Linked DNA regions of Homo sapiens: region 2 is linked to region 1. The links are contacts of gene promoters, found by promoter capture Hi-C in blood cells and fetal thymus (Javierre and others, 2016). All regions are on one chromosome and are shown on one strand. Each heading gives the region's core, a stretch centred on a gene start or on the middle of the fragment in contact. The rest is flanking DNA. Distances are from core to core; before and after follow the strand shown. Region 1 holds the start of PIRT (phosphoinositide interacting regulator of transient receptor potential channels). Region 2 holds the start of SCO1 (synthesis of cytochrome C oxidase 1).

Region 1 (4,990 bases), core at 1,295-3,794:
TCTCTACAAAAAAAATACAAACAAAAAAATTAGCCAGGCATGGTGGTGCACATCTATAATCTCAGCTACTGGGAGGCTGAGGAGGGAGAATCATTTGCATCTGGGAGTCAAGGCTGCAGTGAGCCAAGATCACGCCAATGCACTCCAGCCTGGGAAACAGGAGTGAGACCTTGTCTCAAAAATAAATACATACATACATATGTACATAAAGATTGACAGAAAGAACATTCCAGAAGGAGACAGCCCACGTGCACAGGGACGGATGTTCCAAATGACATGCCACTGCCCAAAAGTGTTTACTAAGGAAACCAATTCATCTGGTTTGCTTGGAACTTTCATGGTTTTAGCACTGAAAGTCCCACATTTCAGGAAATCCATCAGTACCCAGTGAGCCTGGATGGCTGGTCATCCTACCTTACCACTGTCTCGTGCAACACTGGACTGGCCAGGTGAGGGGGCACAGCGCTGAGCAGGAGCAGCTACAGGGTGGAGAGTTAGGGCACTGTGGATAAGAGGCTAAGAGCCATCCCCAGGCAGTGACCATCCCTGCTCCCATTCCCTTCAACACCACAGCTGCAGTAGCGGCCTCTTCATCCCGGGACACTGGAGTCAGCTGCCCAGGGACCATGATGGCTCCTCATGCCTCCTCATCTGTCCTGCTAGGAAGGGGGTCTGCAGACAGAACAGCTTCTACCCCGGACATGTTCTCCTCTGATGCTTGCTGCCCCTCCAATTTACATTTATATTTAAATATGTACTTATACACATGTGCATTATGTGCATATATATTATGTATATATTCTTTAAGCACTTGCTATGAGCATTTTCTCATTTAATCTTCATAAAAGCTCTGTGATGTAGTAATGATCCCACTCAATGAATACATGAGGAAATTAAGGCCCAGAGAAGTAATTCGTCCAAGGCCAAATACAGAGATAGCAATATACCTCACATGGCTACCTCATGGAGTTGTATGGGAAATAAGTGAATTGCTATATATATAAAGTGCTTAGAAGAGTGCCTGACATGGAGGGAGTGATGAATAAGGGTTTAACTTAGGATGGTATTACTCTGCCACACTGCCGTGCCCTGCAGAGGGTGGGGGAATAGCCCGAACTTTGTAAAAATAAATAAATAAATCATTTGATTATTTGCATTGCAAAATAATTCACTCTAGGGTTCCTCTGCGAGCCAGGCCACTTGGTTTTACAAACTGATTTGAGTATAAAGTCAGAGGCACCTAAGGCAAAGCAACTCACATCCTCAAAAACCTTCAAAGTCAAGTTCCCCTGGACACTCAAGGCAGGCCTCTCCCTGCTCATTGCCCTGAGCAGAGACGCTCATCTTCACAGAGGACAGAGGGCGTACTCAGCCTGATCCCTCACAGCAGCTCAGGGGACAGGCTCATCCTCCTAGCTCTCTGCTTCTCTAGGCATGGATCACACAGCAACCTCTACAGAGCCTTCTAGGCTCAGAATCTCCTGCTCATTGCACAGATGAGGAACTCAAGATGCCAAATATGGGAGAGTCTCATACCTGCCTTGACAGCAGCTTCCTTGGATGGCTCCTAGGAAAGCCCTCCCGGCAGACCACAGAGGAAGCCCCTCAGGGTACTGTTCCCAGTAGCAAGGATGCCCACCCACCAGTTATCCTGAGGAACAACAGCTGCCCACGTTCTCAGGTTAGTGTGGGCCAGGGCAGGAGCCAGCATGCCTTCCAGAATCATAGGCAATTTTGCTGACCTCAGTGTATCCGTCAGCATCTTGAGAACTGGCCACTCAACAGCTCACACCCAGCTTCCCGAAGCACAGTCTGGTAAAGGTTTATAGAGGAGAAAACCTTTTCATCCTCCTTGCACTGATTTGCATCATTCTCTTCTCATCATTGTGGCAGCAGGCATCCCATAAAAAGCAACAGGGCACCATGAGGAATGATTGGAAGAGCGATGGGGAACAAGCTCTTTTGCCTCTATTTGAGATGTCAGGCCTGGGATGGAGGTAAGTCGTGTTGTGGGCTCCTGGCAGTTTGTAACATAGGGTGCCCACCCGTGCATTGGAAAGTTCCAAGAAGTGTCCCTGCCATCTTGCAACCAAGGATGTTTTCTAAGTCTGCATGTGCCCCCTCCAACATCCAGAACACAGAGAGTTCCCAGATCAAATTATTAAGGCCTGCACTGAACAGAGCCAGTGTAGCCTGAGTCAGCCGGAGGGTCTGATCCACTCTTTGGCAACTCATCCCCACCACCATGGCCACTACACACCTCCACCAACCCAGAAACTCCAGGTCCTCTGATTTCTGAGCCTGGGTCAGGAGAAGCTGCCCTGCCCAGGCACCAACGGAACGCACGCCTCCATGAAACTTGAAGACAGACTGCAGAGAAGCATCATGAATTTTTCACAAGATTCATCTAATTGTGGCTGAGCAGAGCTGAGAAAGCCACAGTCCGAGGACCCATGCCAGCAGCTCACAAAGAGTTAACCCATTAGGCCATTGCCTGGTGAGCTCATCCATCCCTGCTGGAGCCTGCTCAGTTGCTGGGATTCACAACACACTGACTTCTGGACGTGGTCAGGGTGGCTTTCTCTGGCTGGCATGGACTTGAGCAGAAACTCATTGCCGGCTTCCTCCTTGCACGAGCACCAAGTGATTCCCAGGTCCCCCATCCTCCCCTGGGACATCGAGGACAGTAAGTAAGGAGGGAATGTTTCCTTCTGCCCTTCCTTCCATCTCGCTGAAGGAAGGAGCAGATTTTAACTTTGCTTTGGAGCGTGTTGTCTTTAAACTGGGGTTGGAAGGCAAGCATGAACAACAAGCGGAGAAAAGGGGGCTATGCCCTGGGAGGGGGTGAAGTCAGCCTGGAGGCACTGCCTGCTGAGGGTCTTGGCAGACAGTGGTGGCCAGAGGAAGGGGGGCCGCCCCTTGCTGTGTACTGGGAAGAAGGGAATTTGTGGGCAGAGAGCTGCTTCAGTCCTGCGTCTATAGCATCCAGCCTTCACTCTTAGCAGCCATTGTGGGAAGGGCTGGGCAGGGACTCTCCTCCCAAATCTAAGTGGAAGAAGCAAAAAAGCCAGACAGGAAAGTGCAAGGCCACCCCCAGACCCCAGAGTACATGGGTGGAATCTCGGACCCCAGCCGTCCTCCTGAGCACCCTGTGTCAGACCTCTGCAGCTGCCAATGTCTTCCTCCTGCAGCTGTGGCAGGTGTCTGGGGCAGGTGCCAGAAAAACAAGGTGGAGTGCGTTGGCTGCCTCGGGAGTTTTATCTCAGACAGGGGGAACAAGGCAGGCACATGCAAACACGGACAAAGACGTGGCTCAGTCAGGCAACTGTGTGCCGTGAGAACCCTGCATCCGGGTAAAGCCAGCCGTGGTCACACACGCAATCGCCCGAGCTATTTTTCTACCCTGTCACTGGCCAGGGTCTGGGCACCAGCCGGGTGGCCCAACAAGGGAGGTGGGTGGCACCCTCTAGGTTGACTGTGACCTTTGGGAAACTTCCCTTCCTAGAAGCGCTATGAGCAGGTGACAGATGGGTGGCCATGGCCATGGTGACAGCAGCGGCTTACTCAGAAACCCTCTAGCTTCTATTAGCCCAGACACTTGGCCCCCACTCACCTTATCAGAGGGGTGGACAGTCACCAACTGAATGTCCTGGTGAGGGGAAGACAGCACCGCCAGAGAAGATAAGGGACCGTGGGGATGACCACTGGCAAGCTGGAGCTGGGTGGGGCCTTAATGGGGACTCCGTGAGGGAAACAGGAGGACCCTCCACTTCTTACCACTCTGGGTCTTCCACAGGAATAATACATGGTGTTATTCCCACCACTTCCATCCTGCCTTCCCCGCTTCTCCCCCAGACTCCCCTCGCTGGGCCCAGCCTCCCAGCAGTGAGGTAATGTGTGCCTCTCTCCTCTGCTTTCAGCTCTTGCAACTTCCAGAACAGCCCAGGTGCTATCAGAGCTCTCTAGATGGTGGGGCCTGAGGGGCAGAAGCTCAGGAAGGGCCAGATAACTCCAGGCCCAAGCACAGCAGCACAGCGGGATCTCTTACAATATTAGGGGTGCCAGATGTATTGCGAGATGCCCAGTTCAATTTGAATTTGTCAAACAACAAATACATTTTTTGCATGCGTTGGTCCCATGCAATACTGGAACATTCTTACATGAAAAAAACTATCCGTTGTTGATCTGAGGCTGAACTGTAACTGGACACCTTGTAGTTTTATTCTCTAAATCTGACAACCCTCTTAATACCAACTGTATTTCAGCACGTTCGAAGGAGGACAGCACCAGGAAAAGGCTGGGGAGTGAGTTCAGAGGTGGAGATGTACAGGTGTAGGGTGGTAGAATGCAAGGAAGGCGGTGAAGAAAACAAGAAGAAAAAAAGGCAGGGCCCTCTCCTTGAGAAAGCATAAATAAAAGAGCAGGATTGGCCGGGTGCAGTAGCTCACGCCTGTAATCCTAGCACTTTGGGAAGCTGAGGGAGGTGGATCACCTGAGGTCAGGAGTTCGAGGCCAGCCTGGCCAACATGGCAAAATCCCGTCTCTACTAAAAATTCAAAAATTAGGCAGGCGTGGTGGCATGCACCTGTAATCCCAGCTACTCAGGAGGCTGAGGCAGGAGAATAGCTTGAACCTGGGAGGTGGAGGTTGCAGTGAGCTAAGATCACACCACTTCACTCTAGCCTGGGCAAAAGAGCGAAACTCCATCTCAAAAAAAAAAAAAAAAATCAGGATTTGGAGGCTGGCAGCTCTGAGCCTGTGCTCCTAGCTGCAAAATGGGAATGATAATAGTATTACCCTCCTAAAGCAGAGGATTAAAAGAGACTCCCCAGGCGAAGAAAGTGGCACATGCCAGGCATCTTACGTTGGATTTGTGGCATGGTGACAGTGGTGACTTTAAGGCCACTGTGCCACAGGCCCCTTGCTGGCCTCTTGCTGCTTGCTGGCCCCAGCTCGGGGACCCCGGCGTCCTTGGCAGCTCTAACCAACA
Region 2 (4,990 bases), core at 1,050-3,549, 140 kb after region 1:
GGCCGGGTGTGGTGGCGCAAGCCTGTAATCCTAGCACTTTGGGAGGCCGAGGCGGGCAGATCACGATGTCAGGAAATCGAGACCGTCCTAGCTAACATGGTGAAACACTGTCTCTACTAAAAATATATATATTTTTTAAATTAGACAGGCCTGGTGGCACGCACCTCTAGTCCCAGCTACACGGGAGGATGAGGCAAGAGAATCGCTTGAACCCAGGAGGCGGAGGTTGCAGTGAGCTGAGATCGCACCACTGCACACTCCAGCTTGGGCGACAGAGGGAGACTTTGTCTCAAAAAAAAAAAAAAAAAAAAAAGAAAGAAAAGAAAAATATCTAACTTGGAAAACAAAACATAAACCTCATTTGGTGACTTTGGTGGTTTCACAGCAGTAATAAAAGTGATAAGGTCTATAAGGGATAACACTGTAGGCGCCTTCTGGCACTAAAGTTTCATGGGTCCTTGCCATCAGGCTCAGGTGTTACTAGCAATTCATCCAAAATGCAGTTATAAAACACCTACTTTGAGCCAGGAACTATATTTTATATTTATTTTATTTATTTTTTAGAGGCAGAGTCTTGCTTTGTTGCCCAGACTGGAAGGCAGTGGCCCGATCACAGCTCACTGCAGCTTCAAACTCCTAGGCTCCAGTGACCCACTCACCTCAGCCTCCCAAAGTGATGGGATTACAGGCGTGAGCCACCACATCTGGCCCCAAGAACTGTTTTCAATGATAGCATTTTATTTAATATTATAAAATTAATATGAAGAAGTTGCTACTAAAAGAAGCACTTTAGCAAATAAAATTTAATAGATCAGGTAGAAACACTGACTTCAATCTTAATTTGGGTGGCTGATCAGGTAACCTACAATTGGGCAATCAGAGATGAACAATAATTTTGTATGCTATCTGCCTGACTACACAAGGTACTTTTATGTCTTTTTGTCAATTACAAGAAAAAATTATCCCTGGGCAAACAAATACACAAAGATAAAAGAGCAAAAATCCTACCCACAGGCAACTATAAGATAGAAAAAAATAGTTTGATTAACGACTTGAAGTGCTGAACAAACATTTAAGAACTTTGGCAGAAATTTCTGAAAATTCTAGTCCAACCGCGAATCAAGAAACACAGGTAACACTATGTTCCGTTACTGGGTTAGAGAACAGAACAGTTGGCTAGTTTGGCTAACTCATAGAAAACAAGCAAACCAACCATGCTCTGGTCCAACAATCATCAGAGCACGAGTTTCTCCTACTCAGAGTCGGTCCCATGGGGGAAAAAAAAGCCACACAGGAGCGGGATCTGTAGTTAAGGAAGATAATTAGAGGACGATTTTCCTTTTTTTATTTCTCTGTATTTTGTAAAGCAACCACCGAGGTAGGGGCGGGGAGGGAGTGGTTAATATTGCGGATATTAAGATATAAATAAAGGCAGATGAAATGAAGTTAGACTTTCACAAAGAACGAAAAACCTACGAATGCTCTTGGCCTCATTAACAAGGAACATAAGCAGTTCCAGATGAGGAACCCATAACAAACTTCAAATAACGAAACTGTAGGGAGCAAGGGAGTCCGTGAGAGTATTTTAAGAAACTGGGACCCAGGAAGACTAAGTTAACGGATGGGATATCATGCTGTCTATATTTCTTTACACACTGCTATGCTTTATTAATTAGGTTACATTATAATGTTAAATAACTAGAAGCGCTGGGCATTTAAAGTTCTTCCAGACCGCCCTAACCACTCAAATTATCCTAATTAGCAATTTTTTTTAAGTTAAAGACTATTTCAATCGCAATGGGTCGGTTTCTATTTCAAAGATGTAAAGGAGTCAACATTCTGGCACTTCCTCTTGGCCGGCAGGACGAGGTTGACAAAGTCGGCCAGACAAGGTAGGGTTATGGGGGCTGCCCAGTCCCGTGGGTCTCTAGGCAGTGTGTTCTCTCTTCCGAGGTGGGGGTGTCCCCGGCGCGAGGAGCTAGCTGTGGTCACCGAAGCCCACGACCAAAGCGGGGGCCCCCAGCGCTTGGGGCCGCCTTGCCTCGGCCCAGCCGCGCACCTGGACCCCTAAGGCAGCCCCCTTCCCGGCGCTCCGCTGTCCCGCGGCCCCGCAGCACCGCCCAGCCCGCGCCAGACCCGCCTCCAGCCGCAGGGAACTACCTACCGTGCGCCGGCCCCTGGGCTGAAAGGCCTCTGACTACGGGCTATGTAACAGCGCCACCAACGAGCGGGACGGACAGAGCGACTCCTTCCGACTTCCGGAGGAAGCGGAACGCTACCGGAAATCGCGGGGAGGGTCAAAGGAGACCCGGTCTCCGAGGCTCATGGCGATGCTGGTCCTAGTACCCGGACGAGTTATGCGGCCTCTGGGTGGCCAACTTTGGCGCTTCTTGCCTCGCGGACTCGAGTTTTGGGGCCCAGCCGAGGGGACTGCGAGAGTCTTGCTGAGGCAGTTCTGCGCGCGGCAAGCGGAGGCGTGGCGTGCCTCGGGGCGCCCTGGCTATTGCCTGGGAACCCGGCCCCTCAGCACTGCGAGGCCGCCACCCCCGTGGTCGCAGAAGGGCCCCGGAGACTCCACGCGCCCCTCGAAGCCCGGGGTGAGTGCACACCTGGAACCCTTCTGGTGCTCGTCGCGGCTGTCGGCCAGCCCAGCGGCCACATCCCACTTGGTCGTAACCTCAGACACTACTCCGCCTCCCCTAAAGTTGTCCTTAGCTTGCGCGCCTTACCTGGGTCATGGAATTTCATCCTACATTTCCCGTGCCTTGCGGGTAGTCCCAGTTCTCCACAGAGAACTTGAGACTTTACACCCTCTCCACGTGGCTGGATGCCCCGACTTGGATTTTATGTTAGCGTTTCCATCAAAAAAAAAAAAAAAATTAAGTTTCAGGTTTTCTTAAGGGTATGAACCTAAAGTTTACCGTGATTGAGAAGTCAGAGGACTTTTATAATTTGTCACTTGAGCCCCATCCAGAGTTCCATGTATACGTTGAAATTGAAACAAAAAGTGGAACTTAGTTATGTGTGGATCTGCCTTTTTCTTGGGGTTCTCTCGAGTTCTAATTCTGACCCAGAAATAACTTGAGAGCCACTACCCTGTGGTAAGAGAAGTGGGTTTTTGGAGCTACGGGAAGGTTAATGAGTTAGGCCTAGTCTAGTTGGCCAACATCATCTTCATTTGGGGAGTTGAATAAGGGTACAAAGAAATAATGGGTGTAATTTGCAAGAAGCTCCACTTTTAGATTCCTCTTCTACTTTGGCATTGTTACTTCTGGAAGCCAGAGTTAAGTTAACCTCCCAAATTTCGTTTGGTCTATTTATCTCAGTATCAGCATAAGCAGATAATTGTTTTTTGTGTGTGTGTTTTTGGATTTTGGTTTTTGTTTTGAGACGGAGTTTTGCTCTTTTGCCCAGGCTGGAGTGCAGTGGCCCTATCTCGGCCCACTGCAACGTCCGCCTCCCGGGTTCAAGCGATTCTCCTGCCTCAGCCTCCCGTGTAGCTGGGTTTAGAGGGGTCCGCTACCACGCCCGGCTAATTTTTGTATTTTCAGTGGAGATGGGGTTTCACCATGTTGGCCATGCTGGTCTCAAACTCCCGACCTCAGGTGATCCACCCGCCTCCGCCTCCCAAAGTGCTGGGATTACAGGCGTGACCCACCGCGCCCGGCCATAATTGGTTTTAAAGTCATTACTGGAGCTAGGGTCACACATAGTAACAATCGTGGTACTTGAGCTTTTTTTTTTTTTTTTTTTTTTTTTTATTTACATGAAGAGAACTGACTTAGGGAACTTTCCCCTGGAGATGAATGCCTTTGTAGTTCAGATCCCAGACCTAACTGCATCCACAGAAACTTTGAGCATTTTCTCATCCCTGAAACATTTTGCACATTTAACATCATGGCCTGTGTGTATGTATATTAAAAACTACTTTAATAAGTTTGTATGGTTAAATGTTTGCATCTTACTAGAATTTTTATGTTTGAAATCCCTGCCCCAGTAGCCTGTTTCCTGGAAGTCTTTAGCAATCACATTTGCTATTGGAGGAGCTTTACTGGCTGGAATGAAGCACGTCAAGAAAGAAAAGGCAGAGAGTAAGTAGATTATCATCTGCTCAGCCCTGTATAAAGGTCTTCCTGGCTATGGACTAGCACCTTTTTTGTTGTTTTTTAGCTTTTTGTTTTGAAACAACTTTAGATTTACCAAAAAATTGCAAAGATAGCATAGGTTCTACATACCTTTCACCCAGCTTCCCCTAATATTAACATCTTGTATAACCATGACACATTTTTCATGACTAAGAAATTTTAAATGGCACACAACTATTAAATTACAGATTGTATTTGGATTTCACTTGTTTTTCTATCAATGTCTTTTATTTGTTCCAGGATCCAAGCTAGGATACCACTGCATAACAATGTTAAAAGATATACTGTGGATAGATTTGACTGGGCAAGATGAAATCTGGAGGGTACGAAGATGAGTAAGATGTAGTCGAGCCTTTGAGGTGCACACGGAAGGGAAACAGACACAGAAGTAAAGTATTTTACTAGATGCGATTCTGCCAGGCCAGAAGGAAGCTTACCATGTTGTGAGAGCAAAAGCAAGTCCCAGCCTTGAGATTTGAGAAGGCTTCCTAGAGATCAGGCAAGGAGCATAGTGCGAGTAGATACTGCATGCCCTCTGTGGATGAGGGGGAGGTGAAAAGAGCCTGGTCAGGAAATGCCAGGAACTGCTCTGGATTAGCATCTTGAAATATTTAGAAATTATTTATAAGAACTTTGCATTTTAGTGAATATCCTAGGACTTTTAAGATTTGGTTTAGAGGTTTTAGGTAAATCTTTAAAGTATTGCTTAAATCTTTCCATTCTTTGGAGTCTCTTTTGATAACATTATATACAAAGGTTAATGATTAAATCTGGGAATTCATAGGCTTTAGGAACTTAGCAGTGTTAAGTTTTGTACTGACATACATATATATGAGACTCTTTGG

The links. Contacts are between HindIII fragments. The CHiCAGO score rates a contact against its expected background, and 5 or more counts as called.
Region 2: the fragment with the promoter of SCO1 here is called in contact with the fragment with the promoter of PIRT in region 1 in 6 of 17 cell types (naive CD4 T cells, non-activated CD4 T cells, total CD4 T cells and 3 more); the score reaches 10.3 in naive CD4 T cells.

The regions. Positions count from the first base shown.
Region 1 is chr17:10,835,641-10,840,630 of GRCh38, reverse strand. PIRT (phosphoinositide interacting regulator of transient receptor potential channels) reads left to right here and starts at 2,544. Exons shown (of 2, transcript NM_001101387.2): 1 at 2,544-2,686. RefSeq lists a silencer at 1,311-1,535 and an enhancer at 3,232-3,733. The HindIII fragment of the contact is 9,359 bases long and covers 1-4,990 here.
Region 2 is chr17:10,694,842-10,699,831 of GRCh38, reverse strand. SCO1 (synthesis of cytochrome C oxidase 1) reads left to right here and starts at 2,299. Exons shown (of 6, transcript NM_004589.4): 1 at 2,299-2,597; 2 at 4,001-4,091. The coding sequence starts at 2,325. ADPRM (ADP-ribose/CDP-alcohol diphosphatase, manganese dependent) reads right to left here and starts at 2,238. Exons shown (of 4, transcript NM_020233.5): 1 at 2,165-2,238. RefSeq lists a silencer at 1,871-2,200 and enhancers at 2,321-2,370, 2,086-2,380, 1,674-2,498, 2,499-3,322. The HindIII fragment of the contact is 16,251 bases long and covers 1-4,579 here.